Regions from separate parts of the Homo sapiens genome. Here regions 1, 2 and 4 are each linked to region 3. Evidence: promoter capture Hi-C in 16 types of primary human blood cells and fetal thymus (Javierre and others, 2016). All regions are on one chromosome and are shown on one strand. The core of a region is centred on a gene start or on the middle of the fragment in contact, and the rest is flanking DNA. Distances in the headings are between cores, read along the strand shown. Region 1 overlaps TAF4 (TATA-box binding protein associated factor 4). Region 2 overlaps TAF4 (TATA-box binding protein associated factor 4). Region 3 holds the start of MTG2 (mitochondrial ribosome associated GTPase 2). Region 4 overlaps TAF4 (TATA-box binding protein associated factor 4).

Region 1 (2,700 bases), core at 29-2,528, 140 kb after region 3:
AGTTAGCTCTGCCTGGGAATATTGGGCTGGAGACAGGGGAGGCTCAGTCTTAAGGGAAGGCCAGGCAGGGTGGTCTTTGCATTGGTGGGAGGCTGAAGCCTGGGTTAGCTAACGGGCCCTGCCTCTGTGTCTTCCCGTCCAGCCTGCAGTGGGCTTAGAAATACTTCCTGGAATTATGTGTAAACCAGGTACAGTCGCGCGCCACTTAGTGATGGGGATACATTCTAGAAACGCATCATTAGGCAATGTCATCGTTGTGCGAGCATCGTGGAATATACTAACACAAACCTGGATGGCACAGCCTGCTACACTCTTAGGCTGTGTGGTGCGGCCCCTGGCTCCTGGGCTGTAAACCTGCATGGCTTGTGACGTGTACAGTTGTAACACGATAGTGAGTTTGTGTATCTAAACATAGAAAAGGTACAGTAAAACTAGGGGATAAAAGATGAAAAATGGTGCATCTGTGTAGGGCACTCACCATGAATGGCGCTTGCAGGACTGGGTGTTGCTCTGCGGGAGTCTGAGAGGCCTGGGACATGACTGTGCTGCTGTAGGCTCTGGGGCACTCTATGCTTAGGGTATGCTTAGGGACTATGGAATTTATAAAAACACAGTTTTCTTTCTTCAGTAATAACCTTGACTTACTATAACTTTATAAACTTAACTTTTTCAAACTTTTTGACTCTTTTGTAGTAACACTTAGCTTAAAACACAAACACATTATACAGCTGTGCAAAAAAATACTTTCTTTGTATCCTTATTCTGTAAGCTCTGTCACCCAGGCTGGAGTGCAGTGACGCAATCATGGCTTACTGCAGCCTTGACCTCCTGGGCTCAGGAGATCCTCCCACCTCAGGCTCCCGGATAGCTGGAACTACAGGCAGGCGTGGCCACCATGCCGGGCTAATTTTTGTATTTTTTTGTAGGTTTCACCGTGTTGCCCAGACTGGTCTTGGACTCCTGGGCTCTAGCGATCTGCCTGTCTTAGCCTCCAGAAATGCTGGGTTTACAGACGTGTGCCACCACGCCCAGCGAGCTTTTTTCCATTTTTAAAATTATTTATTACTTTTTAAACTTACTTGTTAGAAACAAGACACAAGCACACGTTAGCCTAGGCCTACAGAGTCAGGATCATCCACATCACTGCCCTCCACCTCCAAGTCCCGTCTCCCTGCAGTCTTCAGGGGCAGTAACACACATGGAGCCGTCATCCCTATGATATCAGTACCTTCTTCTGGACTCTTCCTGAAGGACCTGCCTGAGGCTGCTTTACAGTTAACTGTAAGTTTTAATAAGTAGATGCAGTATATTTCTGAAACAGTGATGGGAAGTAGAATGTAGTGAATATGTAAACCAGTAACATTGTTGCTAATTATCATTGAAACAGGAGAGTTCCCTGACCCGCTCTGGGTACTTGCAACAGGGGCTGTGGCTCATTTGCTGGAAGGGGAGCGTGCAGGGGAGCGTGCAGACGGGCAGGTGCAGGAGCCCGGGTGAGCCCTTTTGGGCTCCCGCCCCACAGTAGCACCTAGGGGTAGATTACAATGAATGCTCTTTTAGCAGTTGCCATTCTCAGATGGCTAAGTGTTAACCAGCTCAGCAGAGAGTCAGGCGACAGCCTTTTTCCCCCTGCCCTCTCGGTACCCGAGTCCTTGTGCGGTGTCCAGGAAGAATCAGGTCACACGGACTTGAAGGATGGCATTTGTGGGGATTTTATTGAGTGATGGAGGTGGCCTTCAGTGAGATGGATGAGCTGGCAAGGGGATGGAGTGAGAAGATGATCTTCCTCTGGAGTTCAGCCGTCCCGCAGCCGATCTCCTCCTGGACGGTGCCCAGCCAAACCCCTCTCGACATTCAGACGCTCCTTCTCTTTTCTCCTTCTCTGCTGCGCCACTTTGCTCTCGTCAGTGGAGCTTGGGGTTTATATGGGCACCAGATAGGGGCGTGGCAGGCCAGATTAGTCTTGGAAAAGGCAACATTTGGGCGCGGAAACAGGAATGCCTGTTCCCATTTAGGGCTGCAGGTGTCCAGGCTTGAGGGTGGGGCCTTTGCTGGGAAATTGCCCTCTTCTACCCAGTATTTCCTTGCCTCCTGTCTGTATCATTAGCCAGTATTCTGTATGCTACAGAATTGTATGTGGGAGGGTTTTTTTTTTTTAGGAGATAGGGCCTCACTCTGTCACTCAGGCTGGAGTGCAGTGGTGCCTTGAACTCCTGGGCTCATGTGATCCTCCTGCCTTGGCCTCCCCTAAGTAGCTGCAACTACAGCCACTGTGCCTGGCTGATGTTTCAATTTTTTTTTTTTTTAGAGAGAAGGGCTCTTGCTTTGTTGCCCAGGCTGGTCTTAAACTCCTGGCCTGAGGCAGTCTTCCCATCTCACCCGCTCAAAGTGGTGAGCTACTGCACCTGGTCAGTGTGCCATACTTTTCTTTTTTCTTTTTTTTTTGAGATGGATTCTCGCTCTGTTGCCCAGGCTGGAGTGCAGTGGCGCAATTTCGGCTCACTGCAACCTCTGCCTCCCGGGTTCAAGCAATTCTCCTGTCTCAGCCTCCCAAGTAGCTGGGACTGCAGGCGTATGCTACCACGCCTGGCTGATTTTTTGTATTTTTAGTAGAGATGGGGTTTCACCCTGTTAGCCAGGATGGTCTTGATGGGACCAGCGTCATGTATGCCGTCTGTTATTGCCAGGAGCATCATGATG
Region 2 (2,700 bases), core at 7-2,506, 170 kb after region 3:
GAAAATGTTGACTGCTAGATTTATACATTGGAAAAGTACTAGTTTAAAATATCAGTAAACATTTGCATTCTGATTATTCATGTAGAATGGAAATGTTAGGAATCGAGTACAGGCCACTGAGTTGTCTGAGCTACCTTTTGGCGTCTGGCTGTTCATTTGCTTAGCAAAGCAGCCCCTCCTTTCTGACAGTTTGACACTGATGACCCATCCTCCATTGCTCGAATCTGCTCTGAAAACTCCCCTCTGTGGGAGGCTTCTTGTTGACACTCACTTTTGGGGAGTAAAGAAAGGTGGGTTTGGGTGATTGCAGGGAGCTGGGGACCCTCCCCTATGGGAGGCTGCGGCTGTGGAGCCCTGACCGCCCTGTAGCCAGCCTCTGCACCTGGGAGGATGGAGCTTTCAGGAGCCGTTCTTCTGTTTGTTGTTTTGATTTCTGAGAGATGGGGATCTGGGTTGCCTGTTAGGATTATTTACTCTGGTCTCTATGTGACTTTTTCCATGGACTTCTGAGGACTGGGGTCTCTGCAGTGCCTGGCTTTGTGAACGTCCGTTTTTGATGCAGGTGCAAATCATGCCTTCCTCACCCGCTCAGGACTGCGATCGTCAGGGCACAGGGCAGGCCTCCCAGCAGCACTCCCGTGTCCAGCGGGCTGGCAGGTGGCCGGGGTCCTTGGCTTCCTGGGCGTCCTGGCCACCGCAGGGAGGCTTGTTTTCTTTTGCTGGGCGTGAGGCTGGTCTCCCCCTCGTCAGCTGGTGGCGTGAGATGCCCTTACCTTGTGTTTTTGGATTCTTGTAGCCTCAGCTCGTTCTGGGTGGCGCTGCCCAGACGGCTTCACTTGGGACGGCGACGGCTGTTCAGACGGGGACTCCTCAGCGCACGGTACCAGGGGCGACCACCACTTCCTCAGCTGCCACGGTAAGAGCCACTCCTTTCCGTGCCTTCAAAGACGGTCAGGCCCGTGGCGCAGGTCAGAAAATGCAGCCTTGAGACCTCAGGCCGGCTTCTGTCCCAGACCGCTCACTGCTTGCTTCACAAAGCAGTGAACAGTCTGGGGCCCACGTGAGCACGTGGGGCTCTGCTGCTGTGCTGTGTGAGGTGGGCTCCGAGGGCCTTAGACCGCAGAAGTCTGCAAACAGCAAAAGCCCAAACACCTGCCTTTGAAAAAGTCACTGGTGCACTGTCGCGTTGTATGTAAAACAGCAGCGCCACCCGTTTGTACACACTCGTAGTGTCGGCCTGTATCGATACACATCTTTATTAAAACAGAAGAGTCACTGGTGAACTGTTGTGTTCAGTGTGTAAAACAGCAGCGCCACCCGTTTGTACACACAGTGTCGGCCTGTATCGATAGACATCTTTAAACAGTGGGCCCCACTTGACGCCTTTTTGGTGTTTCTTTGCTGCGTACTTTTCGTTGCTTTAGTGACCGCATCCTATTTGGTTCCTTCTGTGTCCGTTTGGATTGGCATAGGTTGTCCTTATGGTCAGCAACATTGTAGCAGGCATCTTCGCAGAGTCTCTTTTCACTTTTTTAATTATTTGCATAGCTGCATTCCTAGATGTGGCCTTGCGGGGCTGAGGGAGATGCTGACTTCGGTGGCCATGTGACTGATGTGGCTGGCCTGCCCCATGGCCCAGGGTTCCAAGAGGTGGTGCGTTTTCTTGAAAGAAGTTTAGAGAAGAAATATATGTATCTTTTGTACATATGCATATTTTAGTAACCAAAGGCTGTGACAAAAATCTGCCTTTTAAGATTTTTCACTTATATCTTTTTACTTTAATCCAGGAAACTATGGAAAACGTGAAGAAATGTAAAAATTTCCTATCTACGTTAATAAAACTGGCTTCATCTGGCAAGCAGTCTACAGAGACAGCAGCTAATGTGAAAGAGCTCGTGCAGAATTTACTGGTGAGAAACCTTGACTTTACATTCCCTTTCCCCTAAAGCCTGTTGCATAGGACAGACACCTGTTGCTGCTGTGACCTGTGCCCGGGAGGCCTGTGCCAGCAGGGAGAGCTCCTCTGGAAGGCTGCAGGCGAAGGGGAGGGGTGCACACGTGTCGAAGGCGTGTGTGGCCTAGCTAAGGAGACTCCTTCCTGGGGCTGGGTGTTCTGGGGCCGGCGCCTGGAGGTCTCCCGGGCTTTGCCGTTTTCTGGTGCCTGCGTCCCTTGTCTGTGGCTCTCTTCTCCTCTGGCTGCCCCAACCATGCTGCACTCTGGTCAGGGTCTCCAGCAACTCCCTTCTGGCCCTCTCCCCACTCCTGTGTGACCTCTTATAAAATTCCCAGGTGTCCGCAGTCCCGGCTGGAACAGGCATTCTGCACCCTGAGCCACCAGAAGCCCCCTCCCCATGGAGCAGACCAGCTGAGGCACATTCGCGCTCCAGTGGCAGAGCCGTCCCCCCCACCCCCACCCCTCCCGAAACCTCTGTCGCAGAGAACAGCACTCTGTCCCCTGGCCGGAAGGTGGGAGGGAGGATTCCTGGCAGCCTCCCCTCTCCTTAACCCACAGTCCCAAGCTCCAGATCTCCACTCATGGCCGAGCTCTCGGCTGTCCACCTTCCTCAGCCTCATGGCTGTCTCGTGGCTCAGGGCTGTGCTGGCGTCAGTGGGATGGCCTGGGGATCTGGAGTGGCTGGTCTTACCGTGCCTTCTCCTTGTCCGCCTGACCATGTCTTCCGGAGTCTCTTAGGGTTCAGT
Region 3 (2,700 bases), core at 28-2,527:
CTCACTGCAACCTCCACCTCCCAGGTTCAAGCGATTCTCCTGCCTCAGCCTCCCCAGTAGCTGGGATTACAGGCGCCTGCCACCACGCCCGGCTACTTTTTTGTATTTTTAGTAGAGATGGGGTTTCACCATGTTGGCCAGGCTGGTCTTTAACTCCTGACCTCGTGATCTGCCCGCCTTGGCCTCCCAAAGTTCTGGGATTACAGGCGTGAGCCACCGCGCCCAGCGGAAACCTGATTCTTGACTTTACATTTTTTATGCCCATCTAAAGCAGTGGAGGCTGAGACTCACAGAGGTTCAGTCACTTGCCCAAAGTCACATAGTATCCTCTGGCCTCCCTGGCATGCTGCTGACACCTGCATTTTACGGCAGGAATCTTCTCACTGAGGTTCGCCTACACAGACTTCCCAAGGGACTAAGGCCAGGATAATTTCAAAGGAATCCATTTTCTGCCCAAGTTTCGCTACGTTCTCTCTGCTAAAACAGAACTGCCTGAGGACGAACCTGCGTTTAAAACAATTTGAATTCTCCTTTCCCGTCCCCCTTTTATAATGGGTCCTCCCCTTTACAAAAGAAAGGTATTTCTCTAGTGACACTGCCCAACAACCCCTCTAATTCCCACCTACAGGTCTGTGTGAACGCCGTTCCTCGGTATCCACAGCTACGAGAACGTAAATGGGAATAGAACGGGTAACCCGCTCTCACTGGGCAGAAGCCAGCCACGGACAGTGAATTATCTGGAAATGCGTCTCCCTGAGGCGCGTTTACAATACAAAACTTTATTGTTGTTTTATCATCCAAATGTGTATATATTTATGTTGTTTTGTGCAACTGTATACTGCCAATAATCACTTTAAAATGTTTAATACTTAGAGCGCTGGATCAAGGCAAATTCCTAACAACTTGACTCGGAACTCACACACGGCACCCATCCCGTGACAGAGCACCACCGGGGTGGCTGACAAGACTTCTGACCCCAAAACGCGGTTCTGCGGAGAGAGTGGGGCAGGACCGGGGAGCAAGGCGCCGCTCCCCACCGCCCGAGCGCTCGCTACTCCAGGGCCGCAGCGCTCGGTCCCGCCGGGGTTCGCAGCCCGGCAGCCCTCCAGGCCTCTCAGCTCCTAGGCCGGGGCCTCTCCCGCTCCCAGCGCCCCGGTACCCCGCGGCCCAAGCCGAGGCCCCTCCTTGCGCCCGGGCCGCGACCACCCCCCAGGCCCACGCTCCCCGCTCCCCGCTCCCGCACTCACCGGCTCGGGAAAGCACGTCACTTCCGGAGCGTCGCAAGCGGCCGACCACTTCCGGGGCCTTTTGGCTCCGGAAGCCCAAGGCTTGCCCAGTGCGCAGGTGCAGAAAACACGCCGACGGACCGAGAGGCGACCTTGTCCCTGGTAGCGGAAGCAGGAGCAACGGCAGGAGGGATGCGGAGCGCTCAGCTGCAGCCGCGCTTCTCGCCGGCGCCCTCGCTGCCCGAGCACAAGGACAGCCGCCCCGCCCGTTCCACCCGGTGCCCAAGGTCCCCCAGCTTCTCTGACCCCTCCGGCGTTTGCGGAACCTCCCGGGTCTGACGAGGACACCGCCGTTGCCCGAGGAGGCTACGGGGCAACGCAGAGCAGGCAGTGGGGACCGCAGGGCAGCCCCGGGGCGCCGTCCCCACCGCCCTTACCCTGGCTTCGCCTTGCCGCCGCGGGGAATCCGGTGCGGACGCACGCGAACTCTGCCCGGGAGCCGAGGTGACGATCTACCTGGTCTCGGTAATAAGTATTTGCAAAACACATCACACCAAAATCCCGTTAACTTCATGAAAACTCACTTTATAGGATGATTTTTGAAGAACCAGTTTATTAAGAGATTACACCAAAAGCATAAACAATTTATACGTCAAACTCCGACTGAAAAAAAAATAACCGATAAGGATGTTTTTTAAATGTACTGTACTCACAAATAACAAGACAAATTTGACCTGTTCAATAAATAGAAATGAAGTGGCTAAAAATGTTTAAATGGAAATGGAAAACAGTCGTCTTCTTTGTACAGTTTTGAAGGGGTGCCCCCTATTCACGCCTACACGTAGAAAAACCCTGACAAAATCAGAGGTTCACTTAACACTCCAACCATATGAGCGTATTAAGGTTTCTTTTCAGATCTTAGGAGATCTTGTCCACCTTAATCCCATTCACAGATCTTAGGAGATCTTGTCCACCTTAATCCCATCATAAAGACTGTTGGCATGAGTTCTGATGTACTGTTTTAATATGCTGAGTACTGTTGATTCAACAACAAACCTTAATGGGTGATGAGCTTTTGCATACCAATATGAATTTGTCAGCACTTCTGAAAACTGGCCATCATTTTTCAAATTCACAATTTGCTGGATGTCAGGGAACAATAGGAAGAAGAATGAGCGTCAATTTTCATGTCTTCCTTTGCTTCTTCACTGGCCTTCCATAGAAGTAGTCAGAAAAAAACAAAGCACCATCAACCACACTTCACAAACAATTCATGTTGGCCTAAGCTTTGCTCAACATTCATATGACAGAAGATAGAATAATGAAAAGGAACTGCTGGCATCACTTTCCCCATAATATTACATAAAAATGGACAGCACATTAAATAAACATTCTGTTATTAATCATTAAATATATTAACACCAAAAATCATGTATAAATTAGGAAATAAATGTACAAACTATTTTGCAAAGTG
Region 4 (2,700 bases), core at 55-2,554, 190 kb after region 3:
CCATCTATTACAGTTCTCATTTTGGTTGCAGTTCAGACTGTGCCATCTTTGGCCAATGGAAGCATCTCCAGGTTGGTTCCTGAGTCACGCTGGGACGTGGGGCTGATGTCCTTGCCGTCTGGACGTTAACATGTGTCAGGCTCACCTTACACCTTTCCTGTTTCAGACCGAAAAAGTCATTTCTCCAAGAACTGGTTTCTTCTAGTGGGAAATGGCGTTTGAAGACCACTCGCTGGGACTAGGGATGTCATTGCTGCTGGGGTGGGTTGGCCTTTTCAGTGGACAGCACTGGGAAATGTGTGTAAAACATGGTCTCATGGGCTTATATGGGTATTTCCAATTCAGGTAGTTCAAATTCAGAGGTGTAGGAGTTACCATGTTCAAAATGACGTCTTTATCTTCACAGTAAGAATTCTGGCTCTTGGCTGCCCCAAGGGCTTGGGGGGTGGGGAATTGGAGGGGAGGGCAGGAGAAGGAGAGATTAAAATAAAAGGATCCTGGTTATGGACATAGGAGATAATAGAATTAAAATATCTCCTACCTTTGGACATAGCCTGAGAATAAGAATATGGGCACTCCTGCCGAGGGTGGTGAAAACAGCCGAAAGTTGTTCATGTGCTTTCTCCCTTGGCCCCGTTTTGTATTTTGTGCTGTATTTATGTTGTCGAAACATTTAGCTGTTACACACCATAAGCTCTCCCTTTCGCCCTCTTTGAGTTTTAGTGCCATAAATAATGACATGTTTAATGCCGTGACTCGTCTTTATGTTGTGTCTCTGTAGTCATTTTGATTTTTCCAAATCTCATTCTCTGCTAGATTCTTTTGGAACGCTTCATGGGAGCAGCCACTCCCAAGTTCCCACCTGCTGATGAGTTTGTGCCCTTTGTACCTGAAGGTCTGTTTTTTGGCTCACGTTGTATTTACTGAAGTGTCTTAAGGATGTTACTCTGGATTATTTCCTCCCTAAAGTGTTACTGTCCAAATCTAATGAGAGCCTCATTTTACCTCCTGTAGGCCACGTGTTTTTCTTCCCTGGGTGTCCTTTTTCTCGGAAGCCGGCTCATCCCACTGGAGTGCGTGCTGGGCTTGGTTGTGCTGGGGTGGTGTTCTCAGTACTGGCTGTGTTCTTTCAGTGCGGTTCAAGTCTCCTTAGGAACATCTGCAATAATGATCCTTTGTGTTTGTTCTGTTCTTTTGTTTCTTTCTTCAGAGAGTCCCATTTTCCACGTGTTGTATCTTCTTTGCCTGCTGGAGCACTTTTTACAGTCTCTTAATTTTTAAAATCTCTCTCTCTCTTTTTTTTTGTTTTTTGGTTTTTTAGAGACAGGGTCTCTCTCACCCATGCTGGAGTGCAGTGGTGTGATCACAGCTCACTGCAGCCTCGACCTCCAGGGTTCAAGCAGTCCTCCCACATTGGCCTCCCTAAATGCTGCTGAGCCACTTGTGTCCAGCCTAATTTCTCTCTCTCTTTTTTTTTAATTTTTATTTTTTGAGACAGAGTCTCCCTCTGTCACCCAGGCTGGAGTGCAGTGGCTCTATCTCGGTGTGATCTCAGCTCATGGCAACCTCTGCCTCCTGGTTTTCTTCTGCCTCAGCCTCCTGAGTAGCTGGGATTACAGGTGTGCACCACCACACCCAGCTAATTTTTTTGTATTTTTAGTAGAGACAGGGTTTCACCATGTTGGCCAGGCTGGTCTCAAACTCCAGACCTCAAGTGATTTGCCCGTCTCAGCCTCCCAAAGTGCTGGGATTACAGGTGTGAGCCATTGTGCCTGGCCTAATTTTTCTCTTTTTTAAAAAATTATCTTTTTTGTCCTTTTTGGCTTCCATTTCTCTTAAGGCGTGATTTGCTGTTTACCTGCTGTTTTGAGTATGTGTTTCTGAGGTCTTCTGTGGTCTGTAGGGATGCTCTTCTGCTTTTTATCCTCTTTTTCTCTCATGGGAGCCTGTCTGGGATTTGACCTGAATGTCTTTCTGTTGCTAATTTCGACGTGAGTTTAGGTTTCTCGAACTTGTAACAGGACACGTGGTTTGCAGCGTTTGCTGACTTTGTGGTGCTCCTCTGTGGTTACTTTCCCGTGATGTTAAGAACGGGAGTCCTCAGCGTCTGTGGCTCCGGGGCTCTGTGCACCTCCCAAGCATCTGGACTTTGCTTTGCCTTCCTTGTCCCTGTCCTGCTCAGTACTGATTCACTCCCAGCAGGTTCTCTCCTGCGTGAGGCCCTGTGCTGCAGGAGCCCTGGCAGGTCAGTGTGGGCATTTGCGGTGGCCAGGCTGCCCTCCCTGGTCCTCCCCTGCCCCAGGTTTGACTGCGGCTCTTGGAGGGACCTGCTGCTCTTCCCAGGAAGTCTGCTGGCTCCTGGGTCCAGGCCCGTCGGGGTCCAGTTCTGCAGCGTCCTTCAGGTGATGGCTGCTTGTGGTTCATCTTCATCAGTTTTGTTCTAAAGATTGTCCGCTGGCTTTTGGTTTTGCTGTGTCGTTGCTCTTTTATGTGGAACTTTGGGAAGATCCAGAAACTATGCTACCCCTGTCATCGTCTTCCAGAATACATTAACTTTGAAAATTACTTATTTTAGTTTGAAGTAGTTTTCAAATCTACAGAAAAGTTGCAAGAACAGAGTAAGGAGCTCCGTGCAGACTCCGGTGTATGAGCATCACGCTGTCTGCTTCGTCCCCGCTACACCACATGTGTTTGCGTGCA

The links. Contacts are between HindIII fragments. The CHiCAGO score rates a contact against its expected background, and 5 or more counts as called.
Region 1: a fragment that was not itself captured here is called in contact with the fragment with the promoter of MTG2 in region 3 in 15 of 17 cell types (activated CD4 T cells, M2 macrophages, naive CD8 T cells and 12 more); the score reaches 9.6 in activated CD4 T cells.
Region 2: a contact is called between a fragment that was not itself captured here and the fragment with the promoter of MTG2 in region 3, in 17 of 17 cell types (naive CD4 T cells, activated CD4 T cells, M2 macrophages and 14 more). The highest score is 16.7, in naive CD4 T cells.
Region 4: a contact is called between a fragment that was not itself captured here and the fragment with the promoter of MTG2 in region 3, in 8 of 17 cell types (M2 macrophages, monocytes, M1 macrophages and 5 more). The highest score is 11.2, in M2 macrophages.

Annotation. Positions count from the first base shown.
Region 1 is chr20:62,041,374-62,044,073 of GRCh38, reverse strand. The region is part of intron 1 of TAF4 (TATA-box binding protein associated factor 4); the gene reads left to right. Among named protein-coding and RNA genes, the nearest start is that of MIR3195, 22 kb to the left of the region's middle. The HindIII fragment of the contact is 3,785 bases long and covers 1-2,700 here.
Region 2 is chr20:62,008,262-62,010,961 of GRCh38, reverse strand. It overlaps TAF4 (TATA-box binding protein associated factor 4), which reads left to right. Exons shown (of 15, transcript NM_003185.4): 4 at 797-916; 5 at 1,788-1,910. Among named protein-coding and RNA genes, the nearest start is that of MIR3195, 55 kb to the left of the region's middle. The HindIII fragment of the contact is 5,713 bases long and covers 1-2,700 here.
Region 3 is chr20:62,181,605-62,184,304 of GRCh38, reverse strand. It overlaps MTG2 (mitochondrial ribosome associated GTPase 2), which reads right to left and starts at 1,277. Exons shown (of 7, transcript NM_015666.4): 1 at 1,248-1,277. SS18L1 (SS18L1 subunit of BAF chromatin remodeling complex) reads right to left here. Exons shown (of 11, transcript NM_198935.3): 11 at 1,791-2,700. RefSeq lists silencers at 1,059-1,228, 1,235-1,419, 1,459-1,648. The HindIII fragment of the contact is 5,602 bases long and covers 1-2,514 here.
Region 4 is chr20:61,990,215-61,992,914 of GRCh38, reverse strand. All of the region lies in intron 14 of TAF4 (TATA-box binding protein associated factor 4), which reads left to right. Among named protein-coding and RNA genes, the nearest start is that of MIR1257, 38 kb to the right of the region's middle. RefSeq lists an enhancer at 2,662-2,700. The HindIII fragment of the contact is 9,088 bases long and covers 1-2,700 here.